2 separate regions of the Homo sapiens genome follow, and region 2 is linked to region 1. The links are contacts of gene promoters, found by promoter capture Hi-C in blood cells and fetal thymus (Javierre and others, 2016). All regions are on one chromosome and are shown on one strand. The core of a region is centred on a gene start or on the middle of the fragment in contact, and the rest is flanking DNA. Distances in the headings are between cores, read along the strand shown.

Region 1 (2,973 bases), core at 163-2,662:
GCTCCCAGGAAGACTAAAAATTTCCCTATCAGAACCTTTCACAGGCAAAGTGACTTAATCTTCCCCTGCTTCATGGATCTAGTAATTCCAAATTTTCATATATTTAGCTTTAGTGGCACAAAATTATATTCCCAAATGTTTATTCATTCAACAAATACTTACTGAGGGCCCTGTAATTCCGTAATTTCACCACCCACCGATAGCCTCTCCTCCTGGCACTCACCTTCTAGACCTTGAGCTCTTTGTCCCTTGCACAGTGGCAGAGTGATTACTGGGTAGGTATATTTAAGAAAGGCTGGAAGACTCCTTCCAATCCATTGTCCTCGGGCATTATTTACTTGCTCACAGTTTTTGTATTCAGTACACCAAGAGAGGAACACAGTATGTCCATGCACTCTCTTACTGCAAAGGAATTAATTATTCCCCAGAGAAAAGTTTTGAAATGAGGGGGAAATGCGAATGTTTTCATTTCAAGCGCTTGTTTTAAATGTTAAGAGTATAATTAGTGTCTTCTAAAGAAACTAAATTTACTTTTTCTTGTAGAAGCAAGTTTTGCTCTTCACGCACACAAAAAGCCTCGCTTTATTTCATTTTTTCGTTGTAATGCCAAGTTTGGTTAAAAGGGCAATGAAAAGTTTTCTCGTTCGCACTGACTCAGGGTAGTTCTCAATTCTGAAGACAGAGAAGATCATCAAGCCACAATTGTTCAATCTTTAGTTTCAATCCCCAACAGATAATCGTTAAAGGTTAACTATACTATAGACGTCTTCATCAAGCTGCTGCGGCTTTTCTTCTACTTTGAAAACCACAAGTAAACAAGTCGGCTTCCTGTGCTTTTTGGAAAGAAAGATCAGGATTTAACTCATTTTATTGCTTCAGATAATGGTGTGGTTCCCAGATAAGAGGTGCTACATCCAGGGGCGGTGAACTCGATTATGAAGGGTGGAGTTCGTGCTGGATTCTATGATTTTTTAAATCTTGTAAACCGCACGCAGCAATGAAAGTGCTAAACGCCATGGTGCGTGACCCGCGCCACCCTCACGCTGCTCTCCTTTACCCCCCAGACTCCACTTTTCCTCCGCCACCACGAAAATTCTTGCAAATCAGACAGCTAACCCCGGGGCAATACGAACCATTTTCGCGCCACTCGCTCAGGACCGCGCAGCTGCACAAGGAGAGTGGTCCCCGTAGCCCCTAAAGCCCCCCTTTCTCAAAGGGGATTTTAGGAGTGCCCAAGGCTATCCTTTGAGGTCAGAATATATAGGGGGGTCGTGTTTTTTCCAGGGGGCCACCTAGTCTTGCGCCATGTCTGGCCGTTACCACAGCTTGCAGGACCTGTGTCCCAACGCGGGAAAGACAGCCCGAGCCCCGCCCCTCCGGGCCCGGGTCGGCGCGCCCAGCCTGCCAGCCGCGCTGCTGCTGCTCCTCCTGCTGTGGGACCGCTGACCGCGCGGCTGCTCCGCTCTCCCCGCTCCAAGCGCCGATCTGGGCACCCGCCACCAGCATGGACGCTCGCCGCGTGCCGGTGAGGGCTGGGCGGGCGAACCCGAGGGGCGGGCGCGGTGGGTGCTGGACGCAGGCGGGCGCGGGCCGACCCTCTCCAACTCCGCAGCCTAGCGCTGCCTTAACTGGTGGCCTGCCTAGGCGTTGCCCGCTTGGGCAAGCCCCTGATTTTGTGCACCTGGGATAACTGAGGGCCATGGGGACGTTCCTGCGTGGCGTGCGCACCCGAAGTGCGGGCGGCGTGGAGACTTGAGTCGTTTGCAGGATGGCTAGCAGCGCTGGAAAGCCCTAGGCACGTGCGTCCGCCAAAGGCCGGACAGCGGCCGGGAGCGCTGGCCGGTCCCGATTTTGCCTGCCAGGCAGAGCCAGCCTGCCTGCCCCCTGGGAGGTTGTCCCGCAGCGGCCCAGCCCTTTCCCGCACACAACTCGGAGCCAGTGCGTGGCTCGCCGCGTCTATACCCGCGCTCAGTGGGTGGCCCTTGGGCGCGCACCCCGCCCGGCAAGAGACGCGTCCGCTTCTAACCGCTGAGGGCCAGCGCGTCTGAGGTTTAAGGTCTTGCGAACCGGTCTCCTAGAACTTGGGCTGCGCACGCAGTGTGAAGCGACCGTAGTCCCGGGCGGTGGTTAAGTGCATTTAAAGGGCTTGGTGGGTCAAAGCGTTCGCCGACCATTTGCTCGTTTCCTACTTCCTCCACCCCAACCCCCAACCCCCCACCCCCCACCCCCCAGCCTTACTCTTAGCTGCAGGACGTTGCTCTGAGTGGAACGTTACTTTTTGCTCTAACGGAAGCCAGAACGTAGGGTCGGGCTCCTGGAGAGGGTAGAAGAGTGGGGGTTGGGTGAAACGGAAGACAATGACATGTTTAAAATAAATATCAGGGGTTAGGGACCCTCGCGGGGGTGGGTGCGATGGGGCGTGGTTTCAGAGCTGAGTCGCCGCCCCGGTGGAGCTGGGCATTGGCTTTCCGGATGAAGAAAACCATGTGTAGCTGGTCTTGGAACCTGACATGCCTGAGTTCAAATCTGAGCCACCATGGGACTTGAGTAATCCATTTCGCTTTCCTGAGCCTCAGTTTCCTCATTGGCTAAGTGAGAATAACGATAGCACCTTTGTTGCAAAGAATTAAACCTGACGTGAAAGTGTACTTAACATAGTGCCTGGCACGAAAAACGCCTACTATAAATGGTATTAGTTATTACTTACCTGCCAAAGAAGTTCATCTCCGTCTTGACTATTTGCCTTGCTGCTTTTTTGTGGCTTTTCCTCCAAAGATACGTTTGCCTGGTAAATAACTCTTGGCTTGTGCTGACTTGTTAAAGCTCAGCCTGTATTTCTCGGACAGCTTCCAATAGAATGCCGCCTTTGAGGCTGTCTGGGGCCTCTGACTGCTTGCAGGTAGATTGATGAGTAAAGGGTGGTAATTCCTGCAGTAATGCGATGAACACTGCTGCTTAAGAAGATGGCAGACT
Region 2 (2,973 bases), core at 326-2,825, 380 kb before region 1:
TTTTATTGTCCATACACCATTGAATCGCATGATCCCTGGCAGCCCAGATTCTTCACAGAATATTACATTCCAAAACTGACACTCTTCCATTATATCGCTAGTTGTTAAAGTACAGGTTTTACAAATATTCCAAGATACATGATTTCAGGTGGCCTTGGGATTTTCCCATCTTCTTAGGTTTTTCGAAACTTTGCAAACGTTGGAATTGGGCTGGCACTTCTGGAACTCTTCAGTTTTCTTTCTGCTGAAATAACAGCTCCCGAGAGATGGGAAAGTGAAAAATAAGGAATCTAATTTTGGGAGACAGATATTCCAACTCTACATGTACATACACACACACACCCTTTTTTTTTTTTTTTGATCTGCTAATAATCTTTGGAGCTACTACTTTATTTAAGTGGAAAGAAAACAAGCTTAGTTGATCAAGAATTGCCAGTATCACTACTGTCCTTGAAGGGACCAACCAAGCACTTCACTCCTGGAAACTGAGGGCATGTTCAGAGGTCCTGGAAATGTTGACTTTCTACTGCCGAAAGTGCTAAGTCATTAAGAAATGTGGAGGCATGAGATGCATTGGCTTCATACTGACCAGGGCAGGACCCCCAACTTTTAAACTCAGCACGGCTGCATTTTATAATAGTCACCACTGCCAGAGAGGTTGCAGAACTCTGATAATTACTGGGAAAGAAATAACACAATATTCTTTGATGAGAAGATTACTTTGAGAATTTGATTGTATAATGAAGATGTTGCTTTGAAAGGTACTTCCTATTGTTCTGAATCTGAGACTTGCTAGCAAAAAAAAAAAGTGTCACTTGTTTTGACAGGCTACTTAGAAAAATTCTCTGTTTATTACATTAACTGCAGCATTTTAACTGTCAAACTATGAAAGAATGTTCTGTAGTTTAAAAAACAGAATAGAGCTTCAGGGGAAATTTTTTGGCACACTCTTGTTGCTATTGGTATTGAAAAAAAACACATACATTCTGCATGTGAAATTAGCTTTTTATGTGGTGGCAGACAGAGTGACTCACAATGCCCGTCCTGGTTTCGCAGGTGCAGACCTGGATGGCATTTGGGGGCAAGTGCTACAGAACGATGACAGTTTGACGGTGCTGTTGTTGTAGCTCTGAGACAGGGCCATCAAACACTGAATGAGCTCTCCAAGCTTATTGTTTTGATTTTGCTTTGTTTATAAATCTAAAAACAAGAGGTTGCCCTATAGCAAGTAGATATAATGGGTACTCTTACCAGTAGAAATGTGCATTTTGGCTTTCTTTGAGCAGGTACTTTGGTTAGAGAAATATGAGTAAAAGGATCTGGAGTGACTAGGTAAACAGAGTATTGTAAACTTGAGGCCAACTGTGGATAAAAAAGAGGCTTCAAGGAGACAGGACGCTCTGCTGTACAAGCCTTCCAACCACTCCTTCCAAGTAAAGTGAGACATAGGTTCCAATGTTCAGGATGGTCTATCAGAGACCAGCCTAAAGTTGGGAGGACAGTTAAGTAGACACTGTTTCCCAAATCAAAATTTAGGTCTGCAGTTCTGAAAATGCCTAACAGTAGAAGCCTAAGTAAGTTGAGAAAGAGAAAAGTCATTTGGGCCCGAGCAGAGAGAAATATATGTATATATAAGAGAATTGTTAGAAGTTGGGGAATCTTCCAACTGGGTCAGAAACACACAAACTTGAGTTCGTTTATTTTATGTGATAAATTAATATTTCAGTTGCCCTTGGGATTTTTCCCATCTCCCTAGGTTTTTTGAAACTTTTTAAACATTGGAATTGGGCTGGCAGTTTCTTCTTTTGACTCTTTCTGCTGGAATAAGAGCTCTGAGAGATGGGAAAGTGAAAAGTAAGGAATCTAATTTTAGGAGACAGACAGTCCAACTCTACATGCACGTACACACATACCCCATTTTTTTTTTGATCTGCTAATAATCTTTGGAGTTACTATTTAATTTTACTTAAACGGAAAGAAAACAAGCTTCGTTGGTCAAGAATTGCCAGTATCATTGTTGTCTTGAAGAGACCATCTGAACACACCTTGCTCCTGAAAACTGAGAGCATGTTCAAAGGTCCTGGAAATGGTTTTTTTGTTTGTTTTCTTATTGCCCATACTCTGCTAAGGCATTAAGAAATATGGAAACGTGAGATATATTGGCTTCATATCAAACATATGCTATAGGGCGTAAAGTTGAAAGGCAACAATTTAAGATGGATTAAATGACATAAAGGCAAAATACTGTGGGCGGGGGTGGGGAGGGTATTGTTTATCCCTTAATTGGCTGCCCTAATGCAAGGCTGTCCTGCAGAGGCTGGGTGGAGACTACCCTGCTGCTGTTCGATTCCACACACTTGCTCTAGAGGGCGCGTGAGAGCCTGTGTATTGTGTCTTAATTAGCAGTGCCTGTTTTAATAGGATCTTTATTTGTCTAAACTCTTTTCCAGGGTGTGGAATTTAAAATCCTGGTAATTATAGAGGGATTTGTTTCTTCGGGGGATTCCAGATTAGCAAGCCTAAAATTGGTGGTGGTTAGGGTTTTGATTTCTGCTGGGATGTGTCAAGAGAATGTCCACAGTTACGAAGTTCATCTCAAATGTTAATCAGATGAGAAGAAAAGCACGACCGAAAGAACCTAGGCTTCTGAAGTAAGACAGTCACGGCGAATCCTTCCTTCACTGCATGGTGACCTTCACCTTGGTCTTTACTGGAAAGATTTTGGCGTCACAAGTGAAAGCTTGTAGAATTTACCTGAATAAATGATTGCATTAAGTAGGTCATTTCTCTGCCTCTCCCCATGAAAGCAATTTATTCTTATTCCTCATATCCACATGGCCTGAAACCAGCCATTGGATTGCTACCTTTATGATTAAGATTCAGGAGAGGGGAGGATGAACTTAGCTGCTCATCTACAGTTTAGAGTTTATTATAAGATTGCCTCAAGGTTTTAATGACTTTTTATTGCTAAAG

Evidence for each region. The method cuts DNA at HindIII sites, captures the fragments that hold promoters and counts their contacts. A CHiCAGO score of 5 or more calls a contact.
Region 2: a fragment that was not itself captured here is called in contact with the fragment with the promoter of CDCA7 in region 1 in 1 of 17 cell types (fetal thymus); the score reaches 6.7 in fetal thymus.

Annotation. Positions count from the first base shown.
Region 1 is chr2:173,353,460-173,356,432 of GRCh38, forward strand. It overlaps CDCA7 (cell division cycle associated 7), which reads left to right and starts at 1,413. Exons shown (of 10, transcript NM_031942.5): 1 at 1,413-1,525. The coding sequence starts at 1,505. RefSeq lists enhancers at 457-1,412, 715-804 and a silencer at 1,355-1,624. The HindIII fragment of the contact is 4,998 bases long and covers 1-2,973 here.
Region 2 is chr2:172,969,839-172,972,811 of GRCh38, forward strand. All of the region lies in intron 10 of RAPGEF4 (Rap guanine nucleotide exchange factor 4), which reads left to right. Among named protein-coding and RNA genes, the nearest start is that of MAP3K20, 100 kb to the right of the region's middle. The HindIII fragment of the contact is 818 bases long and covers 1,167-1,984 here.